Linked DNA regions of Homo sapiens: region 1 is linked to region 2. Evidence: promoter capture Hi-C in human tissues and cell types (Jung and others, 2019). All regions are on one chromosome and are shown on one strand. Each heading gives the region's core, a stretch centred on a gene start or on the middle of the fragment in contact. The rest is flanking DNA. Distances are from core to core; before and after follow the strand shown. Region 1 overlaps EIF1 (eukaryotic translation initiation factor 1). Region 2 holds the start of HAP1 (huntingtin associated protein 1).

Region 1 (4,556 bases), core at 537-3,036, 41 kb after region 2:
CTTACCTTGGGAATGTCCACATCACATTGTTTTCTTTTTTTGAGACAGTGTCTATCTCTGTCACCCAGGTTGGAGTGCAGTGGTGCCATCTTGGCGCACTGCGACCTCTGCCTCCTGGGCTCAAGCCATTTTCCCACCTTGGCCTCCCCAGTAGCTGGGAGCATAGGCATGCAACACCACGCCTGGCTAATTTTTGTATTTTTTGTAGAGACAGGGTTTAGTCATGTTGCCCAGGCTGGTCTCGAAGTCCTGGACTCAAGCAATCTGCCTGCCTTGGTCTCTCAAAGTGCTGGGATTACAGGCATGAGCCACCATAACCAGCCATCATGCCTTCTTTTTTTTTTTTGGAGACGGAGTCTCGCTCTGTTGCCCAGGCTGGAGTGCAGTGGCGCAATCTTGGCTCACTGCAACCTCTGCCTCCTGGGTTCAAGCGATTGTCCTGCCTCAGCCTCCCACCTGGGACTACAGGCGCACGCCGCCATGCCCGGCTAATTTTTTGTATTTTAGTAGAGACAGGGTTTCACCGTTGTTGCCCAGGCTGGTCTCGAACTCCTGAGCTCAGGCAATCCGCCTGTCTTGGCCTCCCAAAGTGCTAGGATTACAGATGTGAGCCACCGCGCCCGGCCCATCATGACTTTTTAATTATACTTTTCTTCATTCAGCCTGAGATAGGTTACATCAGGTGGATAAGGGTGTTCACCAACTTCCTCAGTTCTGTGTTCACAGATACTTGTTTCGCTTGGCTTCACAGAGCTGATTTAATAGATGTTGATGGTTTAACTTGGAATAATCCCATCCTAGAGAATTGGAGGTCCTTAAAAAGCATGAGATGGAACAGCCTAGCACAGAACCTGGCCGTGTTCACAACCTACAGCATAGAAGGAATTCTCTTCTCTTGCTGTTTCATCCTGATTGTAGTATTTTGTGTGTTTGGCCTCCCGCCTTGCTCTAGAAGTTCCTCCAAGAAAAAACCTCCTACATTACAGTCAAATCTTACTGATTTAAAAGTCTCACCCAGCCAGGCACGGTGCTCATGCCTGTAATCCCAGCACTTTGGGAGGCTGAGGCAGGCGGATCACAAGGTCAAGGAGATCGGGACCATCCTGGCCAACATGGTGAAACCCTGTCTCTACTAAAAATACAAAAATTAGCCAGTCGTGGTGGCACGTGCCTGTAGTCCCAGCTACTCGGGAGGCTGAGGCAGGAGAATCGCTCGAACCTGGGAGGCAGAAACTGTAGTGAGGCGAGACCGTGCCATTGCACTCCAGTCTGGGCAACAGAGCAAGACTCCATCTCAAAAAAAAAAAAAATTCACTCAAATATTTTGAACAATGCCACTGTATTTGGAGCCTTGGTTGGCTCCAAGGCTAAATTATTTTGTGTTCATGAAACAGACTGGTTTTGTAGGACCTTTAACACGACAAGCTCCTGATGCTGGGGTTAGAATCATTGCTATAGTTTGAATGCTCCACCCAAACCAAAACCCATGTTGAAATTTAATTGCCAATTGAACAGTTATTGGGAGGTGGGGCGCTTTTTTTTTTTTTTTTTTGGAGACTCTGTCACCCAGGCTGGAGTACAGTGGCAGTGACATGATCACAGCTAACTATAGCCTTGGCTTCCTGGGCACCAGTGATCGTCCTTCCTCCTGCCTCAGCCTCCTAAGTAGCTGGGACTACAGGTGTGTGCCATCATGCCTGGCTAATTTTTGTATTGTTTGTAGAGATAGGGTTGTGCCACGTTGCCCAGGTTGGTCTCAAGGATTCACCCCCCTTGGCAAGTGCTGGGATTACAGGTGTGAGCAACTGTGGCTGGCCAAGGTGGGGTTTTTAAAGGTATTAGGTCCTGAGCCTCTGCCCTCATGAATGAAGTGGGCTCACAACAGTATAGGTTTGGCCCCCATTTGCTGTCCAGCCCTTCCACCATGTTATGATGCAGTAAGAAGGCCCTCACCAGATGCCAATGCCATGCCTTTCGACTTCTGTGAGCCAAATAAATCTCTATCAATTATTCAGTCTGCTGTATTCTAACACAATCACCTCCTAGTTTTAGGGCAGTTGCCATTGGCTCAACCTCACCAGCCCTCCTCCACAACTCACCTGGTTCTATGCTCTTTCCCAACCTGGGCTCTAACCTAACTCACCGCTTGTACCTTTATCTACAAAATGGGCTGGTAGTAAACTTAGTAGTCTTGCATTACTCAATGACAGGGACATGTTTTGAGAAACGCATCGTTAGGCGATTTTGTGTTTTCTACGAACATCATCGTGTACTTACGCACACCTGGATGGCACAGCCTACTACATGCCTAGGTTATATGACACAGCCTGTTGCTCCTAGGCTACAAACCTGTACAGCACGTTACTGTGCTGAAATTGTAGGCCAGGGGTGTCGTATCTTTTCACTTCCCTGGGCCACACTGGAAGAATTGTCTTGGGCCACACATAAAATACACCAACAATAGCTGATGAACTAAAAAGAAAAAAAAAAAAGTCACCAAACAAAACTCATGTTTTAGCAAAATTTATTAGTTCGTGTTGGGCCACATTCAAAGCCATCCACACAAGCTTCTTGTAGGCCATTGTAACACAATGTTAAAAGGTACAGTAAAAATACAGTATTATAATCTTATTGTGTAGCACGGCTGTGAGGCTCATTGTTGAATGAAGCATCCTTAGGCAGCACGTGACTGCATGCAGATATGTGTGCTGAAAGAACTTTGCCTTTTTAACTAAATTAATGGACCCAGGAACAGAACTTGGTCTTTTACTTGCCATTCATTGTCCTTCATAAGGGATGGCCTCCCAACACTTAACTTCAGCTCTTCAAATACTTGTCATTAAACCTTCTAATACTACAAACTTACTACCCAGAGTATACACATTCCTAGCGATTTGTGGATCTTAACCCACAGCATGAATGCCCTTGTTATAGCCCTTGCATTTACTCTCCACTCTGCGCCCTTAAACCAAGGCTGTTACTACTGAGGGGGCGCCAAGATTTCCAAGCAACCCATTCTCCAGGACACTGATTAACAGCACAGCATGACTCTGGCTAAATGCTTGCAAAAACAGTTGACCTGCTGGGCATGGTGGCTCATGCCTGTAATCCCAGCACTTTGGGAGGCCAAGACAGGCAGATCACTTGAGGCCAGGTGTTCAAGACCAGCCTGGCCAACATGGAGAAACCCTGTCTCTACTAAAAATACAAAAGTTAGCTGGGCATGGTGCCTGTAATCCCAGCTACTAGGGAGGCTGAGGCACGACAATTGCTTGAACCTGAGGTGGAGGTTGCAGTGAGCCGAGATTGTGCCACTGCACTCCAGCCTGGGCAACAAGGGCAAACCTGTCTCAAAAAACAAACGAACAAAAAACCAGTTGACCAGAGAGGGACAAGCTCATAAAGGTTTTTCTTGGCCAAATTCAGGCCCGTTGAGAAGCTGTGGGTGTGGACGAATCCTCCACTGCCCATTTCTATGGTTCCTTTATATGCACAAGATCGACTATATATAAATAATCTGCAAGTCAGGTATTTCTGAAAACAAGTTTTATTTAAATAAGGGTTTAAATACATTACACATAACATTAAAACTGAAGGGGAAAAAAAAACCAAAAACCAGTTTGTTACTTCACATGGCATTGGGCAGCTGCTGCTATTAAGTTGCAAGCTCTACAGCTAGCTACATGACTGATGGATCAGTTTGAGATTTGTTCCCTTGTCAAAAGTTTAACTCTGATAGAAGGTTGGCCTCACATTCTGATGTTTGGACATCCCTTAGCTAGGATATGTCTGGTCGAACAGACCTTTGTGGCAAGCCAGATGTCCTATCACCTCGCTAGCGGTAAGAGGGCCTCTTTGAGCTCTGTCCACCTAGTCAGGTTGGAGACACCAGGGGATCTACCACCAAAAGCTCCCTTCTAGTAGTACAGCTGGTGCTTCTGCCTTACCCCATCCTCTCCTCTCAGATTCACCGAGGACTGTTCAGGTGGTAACATTCTCTTAGGGTAGGGAACTCTGCAGAGGGAGAGCTGAGGAGGTTCCGGCCATAGTTGTTTGTAATCTTAGGGCTCTGGGCTTGGCTGAAACATGACGGTATTGCTTGGTTTCAGGCTTGACACTGCCAGGCGCCTATTGCTTGACCTCTGTTTAAATGAGGGACTTCAAGACTAGACAGCATGGCTCTTTTCAGTTTATTGCATGAAGGAGTTACACTAGTCCAAGTTAAAAGCGGACCCCAAATGGTTACATTATACAAGCTGTGAGGTTTTTAAACCTGTGACAAGGGAGAGAAGGGAAATTCTACTCATTGCAAGGAAATCCTCACTTAAGCTTCAGTGAGCCACAAGCACTTAAAACCCATGAACCTTCAGCTGATCGTCCTTAGCCAGTCCAATCTGAAAAGACAAAAGGGCAAAGTTTTAAATGGGGGACAGGGAGAGTTAAAGCCTCCATTTCTAATGGCAACAACCCTGTCTTCCTGCTACTACACTGCCCAAGAGCCAGGGGTGCGCACAATGGTTCAACAGAGGGTCCTCAGTTAAGAGCTACCTTTTTTG
Region 2 (4,542 bases), core at 1,775-4,274:
CCCAGCACTTTGGGAGACCAAGGGGGAGGCGGATCACGTGAGGTCGGGAGTTCGAGACCAGCCTAACCAACATGGAGAAACCCCGTCTCTACTAAAAAGACAAAAGTAGCCGGATGTGGTGACGCATGTTATTGGGGAGGCTGAGGCAGAGGCAGGAGAATTGCTTGAACACGGGAGGTGGAGGATGTGGTGAGCCGAGATCGTGCCATTGCACTCCAGCCTGGGGCAACAAGAGCGAAACTCCGTCTCAAAAAAAGAAAAAAAAAAGAAAGAAAGAAAGAAAGAAAATAAAACATGCAGACTTTGAACAAGGAGGAGAACGGTTATGTTATGAAAGTTCCTCCATTTCCAGAAGTATTCTGGGAGATAAGCTCTCTTTTCTGCACCTGTTTTCTCCTCCCTGAGGGAACATTTCCATCAGCATGTAAACATATTGTCCTCTCTCCCATCTTCAAAACACACTCCCCAGCACTCATGTCCTCCTTCAGCTCCTGTGCCCTTTTCCAGCTCTCCTTTGTTGCAGATTTCTTCAATACAGTTTTCTATACTGTCTCCCTTCCTTCCTTCCTTCCTTCCTTCCTTCCTTCCTTCCTTCCTTCCTCCCTCCCTCCCTCCCTCCCGCCTTCCTTCCTTCCTTCCGACAGGGTCTTGCTCTGTCACCCAGGCTGGAGTGCAGCCTCGACCTGTGCTCAGGTGATCCTCCCACCTCAGCCCCTGAAGTAGTACAGGTATGCACCACCATGCCCAGCTATGTTTTTTTTTTTGAGACGGAGTTTCGCTCTTGTTGCCCAGGTTGGAGTGCAATGGCGCAATCTCGGCTCACTGCAACCTCCGCCTCCCGGGTTCAAGCGATTCTCCTGAGTACCTGGGATTACAGGCACCCGTCACCATGCTCAACTAATTTTTTGTATTTTTAGTAGAGACGGGGTTTCACTATGTTGGCCAGGCTGGTATCAAAATCCTGACCTCAGGCGATCCACCCGCCTAGGCTTCCCAAAGTGCTGGGATTACAGGTGTGAGTCACTGCGCCCGGCCAATTCTTGTATTTTTTTGTAGCGAAAGGGTTTTGCCATGTTGCCCAGGTTGGCCTCAAATTCCTGGGCTCAAGCAATTCACCCTCCTAAGCCTCCCAAAGTGCTGGGATTATAGGTGTGAGCCACAGCGCCTAGCCTTCTTTCTGTTTTCATTTTGTTACCTCTCGTTATTTCCTCACTCCTCTTTGGTCTCTCTCACCCCCTCTACCAAGACCGCTCTTTTTTTTTTTTTTTTTTTTTTTGAGACAAGTCTTGCTCTGTTGCCCAGGCTGGAGTGCAGTGGTGCAATCTCGGCTCACTGAAACTTCTGCCTCCTGGGTTCAAGCAATTCCCCTGCCTCAGCCTTCCAAGTAGCTGGGCTTACAGGCTTGTTCCACCACACCGAGCTAATTTTTGTATTTTAGTAGAGATGGGGTTTCACTATGTTGGCTGGGTTGGTCTCAAACTCCTGACCTCAGGTGATCCACCTGCCTTGGCTTCCCAGAGTGCTAGGATTACAGGTGTGAGCCACTGTGCCTGGCCCCGCAAGACCGCTCTTGCCGAGGCCATGACCCCAGCTCACCAAGGTTGCCCATGACCCCAGTTTGCCAAGCTGAGTCTCTGTCCTCAGTCTTTGCCTGGCCCAACAGCACCACCCAACACAGGTGGCCACTCTCTACATGAAACATTTTCTTTACTTTCTAGGACCCAACTTTCCTGGTTTTCCTCTACTTCACTGCCCCACTCATCCCAGTCTTCCTTTGATGCCTCCTCTTCTTCTTTCTGCCCTCTGAATCCTAGGGGGTTAGTCCTGGGCGCTCTTACCTGTCTTCTCTCAGTCTCTTGGGGATCTCACCAGTCTCATAGCTTTAAATGGTCATCAAAGAACAATGACTCCTACATTTAAATCTCCAGCCCGGTCTCTCCCCTACATTCAGATTTATACATCTAATTGTCTACCCAACATTTCCAGTAGGATACTTAAAAAAAAAGTATTCTATTTATTTATTTATTTTGAGGGGTAGGCTCGCTCTGTAGCCCCAGCTGGAGTGCATTGGCACAATTTCGGTTCACTGCAACCTCTACCTTCCAGGTTCAAGCAATTCTCCTGCCTCAGCCTCTTGAGTAGCTGGGACTACAGGCACACGCCACCATGCTTGGCTAATTTTTGTATTTTTAGTAGAGACAGGGTTTCACCAGGTGGCCAGGCTTGTCTGGAACTCCTGACCTCAGGTGATTCGCCTGCCCCGGCCTCCCAAAGTGCTGGGATTACAGGCGTGAGCCACTGCGCCCGGCTACAGGGAGACTTTTAAGAGGCGTCTCCCAAGGAGAACAGGGGTTCGCCAGCATGGCAAGAGGAGGGCAAAGCGAACTAGGGTTGGAGGTGAAGAACAGTTAATCCAATCAAATGGAAGACGTCGAGTGGCGCGAGCACTGGGGTGTGAGCGCGAGGGTCAGGGTTGCAGCGCCAGGCAGGGTTGCAGCGCCAGGCAGGGTTGCAGCGCCAGGCAGGGTTGCAGCGCCAGGCAGGGTTGCAGCACGTTGGAAGCGCACTGGAGTTTGGAATGTCTCTCCCAGTCAACCGGGAAAGACGCAGCGCTGCCCTAATGCACTGGCCACCCCAGACCGTATGCACAACGTTGGGTTGGCAGCTTCTACACCAGGGAAGGCACCCGAAACCCCGGCGCGGCAGCTGGGGAGGGGCTGCCCCCAGCCAGGGACCCGCGAGTGCTGGGGCAGCCGCGGCTTTGGGCAGAACCATTCTCCGGAGATGGAGAGGGCAGAAAAAATCTTTCGCTCCCATCCCAACTCGGAGCCATCCGGAACTTGCACTCGCCCTTCTTGCCCTGCTTTTCTTACTGTGCTCTGTTCCGTCACCACTAGCTCCCCTCCCGCGCGGCTCTGAGTCCCGCTTGCCACTAGTTGCTTCTCGGCAGCCCCCACCCCTACGCGTGGTCCGGCCCGGCGGCTGGCGCAGGTTATAAAGGTCCCGCCGCAGCAGCGGACGGCAGACTCGAGATGCGCCCGAAGAGGTTGGGCCGGTGCTGCGCGGGGAGCCGGCTCGGACCCGGGGACCCAGCAGCACTCACCTGTGCACCTTCGCCCTCAGCCAGTCCCGCTCCGGAGCCCTCTGCGCAGCCGCAGGCACGGGGCACTGGACAGAGAGTAGGATCCCGAGCCACCTCTGGATCCCAGTTCCTCTCGGAAGCCCGCACCGGAGCTCGCCCGGCCTCGGAGGCTGGAGCCAAGGCAGGAGCCCGGCGCCCGTCCGCATTCTCGGCCATCCAAGGGGATGTCCGGTCTATGCCCGACAATTCGGACGCGCCGTGGACCCGCTTCGTATTCCAAGGGCCGTTTGGTTCCCGGGCCACTGGCCGGGGGACTGGAAAGGCAGCGGGCATCTGGAAGACGCCAGCCGCCTACGTTGGCCGGCGACCCGGGGTGTCCGGCCCTGAGCGCGCCGCCTTTATTCGGGAGCTGGAGGAAGGTAAATCGGGCCCCCGGGGTCCTGGACCGGGTGGGGACTGGGGCAACTCCAGGGAGGAAGTGGCCCCATCGGGTCCAGGCACCCCGCCCCCTCTAGCACTCAGTGTCACCCGTCCACCACCCCCGCGATGTCACTGCGGTGTCTGTCTGGTCGCCCCTTCTCCATCTCCTCCTCTGCTCTTGTCCCCTGGTTTGTGCCCGTGAGTCAGGTTCTGGGGCCTGCACGCTCGCCCACCCACCTCCACGCGCCTCTTGCTGCGGCAGATCTGCACCCCTTCAGCGCCCCTCTCCTGGGTCTACCGCAGTGCCAGGAGAGGGGCGGGGGGCTGCGGGAGGGCGCTGTCCCGCGCGCTCTGAGTCTGCGCTGGCCGACCGGGCTTGCGTGCGATGGAGGGGTGGGTGGGCGGGCGGAGGGGGAAGTTTTGCCCACTTTTTGGTTGCGGGTATGGGGGCAAAGTCGCGCTCTTTTCCTGCCCCTTGTCTCTCCTATCCTCCTGCGGGTCGGGGGAGATCTCTGGATTGGGCCTAGAGGCTCGAGTGTCTCCTAATCTGGTGAAGTCTTCCTCCTGTCCTCTGCACACGCAACAGGTGCAGGGTGAGTGGCTGCGTCTGTTTGTATGACCCAGGAGACTCCATTGCACTGCCTCCTGGGTAGGGGGTGATGAGCCAGTCTGAGGCTGTACTTCCCCTGGCTGTCTCCATTCTAGGCGCCAGGGACCCAGGTGTCCGGAGAGCCCAGTTTCTGAGCCTGGAGGACTGTGACCCCCTTACCTCAGGCTCCTCCAGGGGTAAAAAAAAAAAAAAAAAAAAAAAAGCCGGGCGCGGTGGCTGACGCCTGTAATCCCAGCCAGCACTTTGGCAGGCCGAGGCGGGCGGATCACTAGGTCAGGAGTTCGAGACCAGCCTGGCCAACATGGTGAAACCCCGTCTCTACTAAAAATACAAAAATAAGCTGGGCGTGGTGGCGGGCGTGTATAACCCCAGCTACTCGGGAGGTTGAGGCAGGAGAATTGCTTGAATCTGGGAGGCAGACGTTGCAGTG

What was found. Contacts are between HindIII fragments. The study calls those that stand out against the background at their distance.
Region 1: a fragment that was not itself captured here is called in contact with the fragment with the promoter of HAP1 in region 2 in 2 of the 25 tissues and cell types used here (H1 embryonic stem cells and IMR-90 fibroblasts).

The regions. Positions count from the first base shown.
Region 1 is chr17:41,690,620-41,695,175 of GRCh38, reverse strand. EIF1 (eukaryotic translation initiation factor 1) reads right to left here. Exons shown (of 4, transcript NM_005801.4): 4 at 2,508-4,394. The coding sequence ends at 4,350. Among named protein-coding and RNA genes, the nearest start is that of EIF1, 4.0 kb to the right of the region's middle. The HindIII fragment of the contact is 3,325 bases long and covers 124-3,448 here.
Region 2 is chr17:41,733,125-41,737,666 of GRCh38, reverse strand. It overlaps HAP1 (huntingtin associated protein 1), which reads left to right and starts at 3,024. Exons shown (of 11, transcript NM_177977.3): 1 at 3,024-3,501. The coding sequence starts at 3,033. RefSeq lists an enhancer at 3,593-4,135. The HindIII fragment of the contact is 15,187 bases long and covers 1-4,542 here.